Regions from separate parts of the Homo sapiens genome. Here region 2 is linked to region 1. The links are contacts of gene promoters, found by promoter capture Hi-C in blood cells and fetal thymus (Javierre and others, 2016). All regions are on one chromosome and are shown on one strand. Each heading gives the region's core, a stretch centred on a gene start or on the middle of the fragment in contact. The rest is flanking DNA. Distances are from core to core; before and after follow the strand shown.

Region 1 (4,250 bases), core at 397-2,896:
GGGGTGGTGGCGGGCGCCTGTAGTCCCAGCTACTCAGGAAGCTGAGGCAGGAGAATGGCGTGAACTCGGGAAGGGAAGCTTGCAGTGAGCCAAGATCGCTGCCACTGCACTCCAGCTTGGGCGACAGAACAAAACTCTGTCTCAAAAAAAAAAAATCTAGTTCTTCAGGCTTTTAATTTCTTCTAACAAATCTTATTACGTTTGAAAATCTACTAAATTTTAAACAATTTCAAGCGAAACTTTGCAACTTAAAAGTCTCTTTAAAATTTTAAATTCTATTCATAAACCACTCAATTTTCTTTCTTAATATGTCTATTTGCTGATTACAAATAAGCCTTCCTAAGTATTTTACTCTTACAAAGCTAACAAGCGAAATTGTTAAGTACAATGAATCTAAGGTTCTACCACACATTCCAATACTATTTAAGAACTTGAAACTTTTCTTATACATTTTAACCATTCTAAGCCAGTTACACATTTTCAAGTACATATCCGATCTTTATTGAATGAAACCATCATATAATGAATCAGCAATTACTGAAATGTTGGCTCAGAAAATCAGTTAAGTGCAAAGCCCAGATTTTCTATCAACGCCTTTAAAAAAACTGAGAGATGAAATTGTATATATTAATACTTGCCGCCTACCTGATGTTTTTAAGTATATATACACTGTGGAATAAATTTAGCTAACAAATGCATTGCCTAACATAGTTATTTTTGTGGTGAGAACACTAACATCCACTCTCCGTTTTTCAAGAATACGTATATCGTCATTAACTATAGCCTCCATGCTGTACGACATATCTGTGAACTTGTTCTCGTATCTAACTGTAATTACGTATCCTTTCACCTTCCCAATCTCCATCCTCTGGGGTGATGGCGAAAAGCAATTAATTCTCCGAGTGCACTTAGGCAGTGATCACCTTGCGCCTGGGGCCATTCTAAAAGTAGTGGTGGTGAACTCCCAAGCCTAAACTAGGTTAATCCACTATTCCTCCCGCCTCCGACCCTCACTGAAAACCACAACTGACCCTCCTAGCCAGCACACTCGCTGGCTCGCAACAGGACGCAGACAATTGCTGATGTACTTCCCTCTCGACACACTCCCTCCCATGCAGTCGCTAGAAGGCCTGCATTTTTTTGGATAGCAGTAAGATTCGCTCAGAAGTCGCAGTTCCCTTTTGCCGGTCGACCGGGCGAACCCCCTCCCATCTCACCTCTTGATGGTAACGCCTCGGAAGAACGGGTACCACGCGGAGAACTGGCAGTGAAGCACATGCTCCTTCTTCATCCTCCAGCTGCCGCCGCTGCTGCCTTTCCCTCTCCTGCCTGCACCCTCCCGGAACTCTGGGCGCCGGCCCCGGAAGTGCCCGCCGAGCTATTTTGGTTCAAGGACTCTTCCGGTCCCTAAAGCAAGAAGGAAGACCGAGAAAAGGAAGCGGAGGAGAATCCCGGGGCATACGCTTGACACACACGCATACAAAAAGAGCTTTAGTCTCGAAAGAGGAATTACCGAAGTGTCGAGAGAGGAATTTTAAGAAGTTTACAACTCCGTCTTCGCCCTAAACGCACGCTGACCCGGAAAGTAATCTCCTGAAGCTAGGTCAAAGGCGGGGGTTCTACGGATGCCGGAAGGAGGGTGCGCGCCCATCCTTTTAGCACCGCGAGAGGCGCCGGTGTTTCGAGCCGTGGCACCGGCATCGGCTGACACTGCTGCCTCCAGCTAGTTATTTCGTCCTCTTCCGTTCTTCACCCCTACACCTTGGAGTAAGTAACCGGGGCAAGCCAGTCACAGCACAAAACCTCTTTGGGGAGGAGAAGAAGAAGGGGAAAGGGACCACATCTGCATGGTGCGTGCAGCCGCGCGGTGTCTCCCAGGCTGCGGCTGGGCACGCGTCCAGGCGCCCAAGAGGGAAACTGGGGATTGGAGGGAAATTGTGGATTGGAGAGGAAGAGCCTGGGCTACTCCGAGTAAAGAAAGCGGGGAACACCACAGCTAAGTGTTAGTTCCAGTGTAAAGATTGCAGCATCTGCAGAGGAGTAGAATGCTTGGTAGAGGGAATACCGCCTGTACGATCCTGGAGGGTTCGACTTTGGGAGGTAAAAGGCGAGAGGTAAATGTGAGAAAGCAGAGGAAAGAGGAGTCTCCTTGGAGCGCTGAATTCGTTTAGTCTGGCCTCGCAAAAGTTGTCAACCTGGAAAAAACGCAGATTTTTATCAGTATTCCTGCGATGATCGAATCATAAGACTGGAAGAATTCGAATCGAACTTGTACTATCGTTTTTTCCTTTGCTTCACTCCTGTCACCCAGCAAAGTTCAGTTTTGTTTGTTTCGTTAAAAGAATGAGAAGTAACTAGCTGCTTTTATTTATTTATTTGAGACGGAGTCTCACTCTGTGCCCAGATTGGAGTGCAGTGGCGCAATCTTGGCTCACTGCAACCTCCGCCTCCTGGGTTTAAGTGATTCTCCTGCCTTAGCTTCTCGAGTAGCTGAGAGCGCGCGCGCGCCACTACGCCGGCTAATTTTTGTGTTTTTAGTAGAGACGGCGTTTCACCATATTTGCCAGGCTGGTCTCGAACTCCTAACCTTAGGTGATCTGCCCGCCTCAGCCTCCCAAAGTGCTGGGTTTACAAGGCGTGAGCCACGGCCCCGGGCCTACCAACCAGCCGCTTTTAACCCCTAGTCGTGTCGCTTACCACACGAGCTTTAGGCTTGCGCGAGGCATCTGCGTCTAAAAGTATCTCCTTAAATGTACATTCTTCCTGGTTCACCTAAGTAGTTTTAAATTAGAAACAGCCCCACCGACTGCAGGCCTCTTCAGAAGGGTGTTCCTTAGAATAATAAACAATTATCTGCGTATTTTGAGTTAGAAACTCTTCCCCCCAGGAATATATACATTGTTTTGGGTTGTGTTTTGTTTTTCTCAAAAATGTTACTGGCTAAGTGGCTAGTTGGAAGCAGTGCTTTAAAGAATACATTTTCAAAGCAGAGGTAAATAGATTATAATGTTGCAGAGTATGTTGGTGGGGATGGACAGTCATGATTCATCATTTATGCCTTGATCCGGAACTATGCAGTCCTTTCTGATTTGAGGGAAAGAAGCAATATTGTATATATGTCTGGAGGGTGGTGCCAGAAAGACTTAATGGCAGACAGGAGCAGTCGCTCAAATAATTGTTTTGATTTGACTTAGAAAGTAAAAAATTGCGCGGAAGGAGATGTTAGCATCGATGGGGGATTTATTTAGGTCAGATGTTTTCTAATGAAGATAGGAATGAATGTACGGAAGAGAATAGATCCCGGGAACATAGCCCTTCTGCGAGGAGCAGTACTTTAACAGCCCAAGAAACATTTGAGCATAGGCCGGGCGCGGTGCCTCATGCCTGTGATCCCAGCACTCTGGGAGGCCGAGGCGGGCGCATCACCTGAGGTCAGGAGTTTGACCAGCCTGTCCAACATGGCGAAACCCCGTCCCTACTAAAATATCAAAAATTAGCCGGGCGTGTTGGCGCATGCCTGTAGTCCCAGCTACTCGGGAGGCTGAGGCAGGAGAATCGCTTGAATCCGGGAGGCGGAGGTTGCGATGAGCCGAGATCGCGCCACTGCACTCCAGCCTGGCAACAGAGCGAGACTCTTTTTTTTCCGTCTCGGGAAAAAAAAAAAAAAGAGTGTAGAGATTAAGGCAGTTGCAAAGCTTTAATATAGAATTGCAGTTGTGTGTAGAAAAGCAGCTAAGTTTGTAAGCTTAAATATATAGATACTACAGGGAAGGAATTTTTATAGATACCTTTTATTCAGGCAGTATACTTTAGAAGTGTGTTCAATGACTTTTTGGTATTACAGTTGGTTTTAAGTAACTTGTTACACATTTAACCAGCATCAAATAAATTGACATTATACATAGGAGATGCTCAAATACTTTGAATGGATACAGCTAAATGAGGGTTCACTGTATTTTAACCACCGTGGTTGTCTTCACTAAGCCATGAAGTCATTGTATTCATCAAGTTTCTCCAATAAAACCTTTCAACAGTGGAAATATTTGCTTTTTCTCCTGCATGCTGAAAAGTCAGTAGTCATGTGATTATGGGGGAGGAGATTTATTGTGCAATTCCTAATGAAGTAATGAAAAAACACATTTCTTTCTCTGAATCCATAGCATGACTAATCATCCTAGATTAAGATTTTCACCTGTCTGCTGGTTTTCTTCATCTGGATGTCTGCTATCACCTCAAACAAGCGTGTACAG
Region 2 (4,201 bases), core at 562-3,061, 460 kb before region 1:
CAGCCTCCCGAGTAGCTGGAACTACAGGCATGCGCCACCACACTCAGCTAATTTTTGTATTTTTAGTAGAGACGGGGTTTCACCATGTTGGCCAGGATGGTCTCGATCTCTTGACCTCGTGATCAGCCTGCCTCGGCCTCCCAAAGTGCTGGGATTACAGGCATGAGCCACCGTGCCTGGCCAGAAAGGTGCTTTTAAAAAGTTCTTGATGAAAATCATTAACCAAGTTCACCAAGTTTACCAAAATATATCCATAAAAGTGCACACAAAAAGAAATGCATACTGATTAGTGGAATTGCACAAGCAATCAAGAGATTAGCTTGCGTCTTAGCTCTGATACATCTAACTGCAAGACTTTGAACAAGTCGTTAAATACTTTCTGATTTGATTTCTCATTTGTTAAATGAACATCAAAATATGTCATCTTGTTATTTATCTATCCACGTGTATATATATGTGTTTATGTAAAAAAAATGTATATACACACACACATGTAACATATTACTGTATAGTTAGAGATCTTGTGTTGTAGACCATAGGCCACTTCAAGAAATGAGCAGAATTCAAAATCCTAAGCTTCAAATCACCTCTCTTTGCTGCCAGAAGATGGAGCTATACTCAATGGGCAACTAAGGAGCCAAGACTATGATACCTAAATCAACTAAGCTCTTAAGTCTGTAAGCTAGTTTTGTTGTTGTTTTTTAAAGATTAAGTACTACATGTTGATACTGATTGTGAAATGAGTTTTTCCTTGAATCCTTATAAACAAACAAACAAATGACAATAAAAACCCTTGTGCACAAATGGCGGTTTTTTTCTTTTCTCTTTTTTTTGAAACAGGGTCTCTCACTCCGTCACCCAGGCTGGAGCGCAGTGGTGTGGTTTCGGTTCACTGCAACCTCTGCCTCCCAGGCTCAAGTGATCCTCCCACCTCAGTCTCCCAAGTAGCTAGGACCACAGGCATGTGCCACCACACCCAGCTAATTTTGGCATATTTTTGTAGAGATGGGATTTCACCATGTTACCCAGGCTGGTCCTGAAGGTATTTTCTTAATAGCACCCCAGGCCTCCTTAGTACAATGCAGGGTACCCACTGTGGGGGCATAGCTAGCACTCATATGTGTAGGGATGCAGTGCTAGAGCCTGTAATGGTCCCACAGGAGGGGCATCAACGAGCTGGTTCTGTCTCTGACACTATGACCACATTCTGGTCACATCCCCTTCCTGGGTCTCGGTTTCCTTGTCTAGAAATCAACCAGCCAGACCAGAAAGTCCCCAAGGTCTCTTCCAACTCTAACAATCAATGAATCTAAACTTATAATGAGGCAAAGTGCATTAAGGTATCTATGAGAACCATCAACTTTGACTCTAAGTCCATATTCAGTGTTCTCTGGAATAGTCTTTGCTACACAGAAGCCTGGTGACAACTTGTGCATCAATAGGTTCTTTATCTGCACAGACAAGTTTGTCAGCTGGACACAGAACAGAATTTTCTTGAGACATGAAGTTGTTTACACAGAAAAGACCCACTTTTCCTTCTCCCACATCAGCATCCACAATGCCTGGACTAATACAGAAACGCCCAAGTGATTTGCTCTTGTCTAGAATGGCTCTAGAGGTCCAGCTGAGGCCTGGCGGTCTTTCGACCAAAGGAGAAATAAGTTAGGTCCAGTTCAGTGTGAAAAATCCAGTGTGAAAAATCCAGCACATATCAACACTCAAGGAATGTTTATGGAAGAATGAATGAATGAATGAACAATTAATTCTCACCTTCCAAAAGTCTTACAGACTCCAGACATTCCAAAGCTACACACCAGAATGAAAAAAGGTTCTAAGATTTGACTGTGTATTTCTTTCCTATTTCTGTTACCATCCATGAGAAGTTACCAGTGAATGGGTGATACAGTTTGGATAGTTTTTCTTGCCCAAATCTCATCTTGAATTTCAATCCTCAATGCTTGAACATGGGGTCTAGAGGGCAGTGTTCAAGTCATGGGGGTGGATCCCTCATGGCTTGGTGCTGTCTTTGCGACAGTGGCTTCTTGTGTGGCACCTCCCCCTCCCACTCTCTCTCGATCCTGCTTTCACCATGTGACATGCCTGCTCCCCCTTTGCCTTCCATCATGAGTGTAAGTTTCCTGAGGTCTCCCTAAAAGCCGAGCAGATGCCAGCACTATGCTTCCTGTACAGCCTGCAGAACTGTGAGCCAATTAAACCTCTTTTCCTATAAATTACCCAGGCTCAGGTATTTCTGTATAGCAATGCAGGAACGGCCTAATCCAATGGGTCTCAAGCTCAGATACGTGCTAGAATTATCTGAGGAGTTCCAAATGTACTAATAACTGGAACATTTTTGGAGATTATGATTTGATTGGCCTGCGGCGTGGCCTAGGCGTAACAAGTTCTTTATAGTTTCTCCAGTGATTCAAACGTGCAGCCAAGTTTGAGAACCACTGGTAAGTCATTTATTACTAAATTACTGAGAATCTTAGGTCATGGGAAAGGGTTCAACTTTAGATACTTCAGAGCTGATAACTTCGTGGCTTCCGTGCCCATTTTAAATTTATCTAGGCTGAATACATTTATTTGATAATAAGTCTGATTTTTAAAGGTTAAGATCCAGGGTGTCCTAAGGATAAAGATTTAAGGCTACATGGCCAACCCATTACTCCTCTCAGGATAAGAATATGAAAAAAATAACATTTCTTAGCAAGTATAATAGTATTAGCAACTAATATTTCTTAGCAAGTAGTATTAGTAATACTTCTTCTACTATTTCTTAGCAAGACTTTGAAACACTAACACATTTAAAGGAATACTGTCATTTCCTTCTTTGAATCTTTTGGTAACTTTTTGTCAAAGGGTAATATATATTTCTGTGGGCATTTTAAACATGAAAATTAGCACCAGGAGTCTCAGAAAACATTAAGGTGTTTACCCGCCTTGAAACAGAGATTAACTCTTGTAGCTTGGATTTCCTAGCTTCACTGATGTGAGAACCCACATACACCAAATCACCTTAGAAAGGGAAATCTCAGAAAGCTTGTTTCAGATTCACTGTGGATGCTTACAAGGTGAATTTAGAAGCTATTCCTGTATGAAATACTGTTAATGACACAGAACTGCTGGGGTGTATCCTGCAGCTTCCTTCACATACTCTGTGCCCCAGATTGAAGACGCTGGGCTTGAATTCAGGAAGCATCTTTGAGGTTTCTAGCTCTGAACACTTGCATTTATATGAGGATAAGTAAGTGGAAGGGAAACAAAATAATGCACTGGAATCTAGGGGAAAGGTATTGTTTCTTTTTTCTTTCCTACCACTAATGTCCTGTGCTTTCTCTGTGCTGATACCCACATGGAAGGGTCCATATTTCACAACTCAAACCCATGACCATGTCAAGCCAACAGGTGCCCTGAATAGCACCTACTGAAATTGGAGGACCCAGTGCTGCTCTTTCATTCAAACGAGATAATGAAGCATCAGGAACACAGGCCAAAATGATCCTAGGCATTGCACTAAAGCTACTGGGGTATGGCAACATTTATTTAGAAAGTGGGAAGCCAATTGTAAAAGAAAAAGATGAGATGAAAATAGTAAGATGAAAAACAGAGAGGGAAGTCTGTTTTGAACAACCATCTAATTTCAGTTCACTGTCAGACTTAGGGGGATTGAACTCATACTGTATAATGTTCCTCATCATTCTGGGAAAGTGCCCACATTCAGAGATGATGGTGCAGAATTGAGTGTTCTTTAATTTTTGCACATCAGTAATTAACGTTGTCACATGGTTGGCTCAGGTCACACTCAGGCTTCAGATAACCAGGCACATTCCAATGGAAGAAAACATCTTTCAAGCACTCATATGTTGGGAATGAATTAGGGTGTTTGTGGTTCATTGTATGTGTGTTTTTAAACATAATTTCTTATTTTCTGATCATCTCTATCAGTGTGCATAATAAGGACAACTCTGTGCTATGGTATGAATATTTGTTTCCTCCAAAACTCACACTGAAATGCAATCCCTAATGTGGCAGTATTGTGAGGTGGGGCCTTTTAGAGGTGACTGAATCACAAGGGTTCTGCCCTTATGAATAGATTAACCCATTTGTGGATTAATGGGTCATCACAGGAGTGGGCTGGTGGTTTTTTAAGAGGAAGGGAGACCTAAGCTAGCACATGAGCACGCTCAGCCCCCCAGCC

What was found. The method cuts DNA at HindIII sites, captures the fragments that hold promoters and counts their contacts. A CHiCAGO score of 5 or more calls a contact.
Region 2: a fragment that was not itself captured here is called in contact with the fragment with the promoter of NUDT5 in region 1 in 2 of 17 cell types (total B cells and naive B cells); the score reaches 7.0 in total B cells.

Annotation. Positions count from the first base shown.
Region 1 is chr10:12,193,287-12,197,536 of GRCh38, reverse strand. NUDT5 (nudix hydrolase 5) reads left to right here and starts at 1,646. Exons shown (of 10, transcript NM_014142.4): 1 at 1,646-1,767. It overlaps CDC123 (cell division cycle 123), which reads right to left and starts at 1,349. Exons shown (of 13, transcript NM_006023.3): 1 at 1,218-1,349. The coding sequence starts at 1,291. RefSeq lists an enhancer at 1,333-1,602. The HindIII fragment of the contact is 3,617 bases long and covers 81-3,697 here.
Region 2 is chr10:12,653,126-12,657,326 of GRCh38, reverse strand. All of the region lies in intron 2 of CAMK1D (calcium/calmodulin dependent protein kinase ID), which reads right to left. It overlaps MIR4481 (microRNA 4481), which reads left to right and starts at 4,130; the gene lies at 4,130-4,189. RefSeq lists a silencer at 443-737 and an enhancer at 1,066-1,125. The HindIII fragment of the contact is 2,466 bases long and covers 579-3,044 here.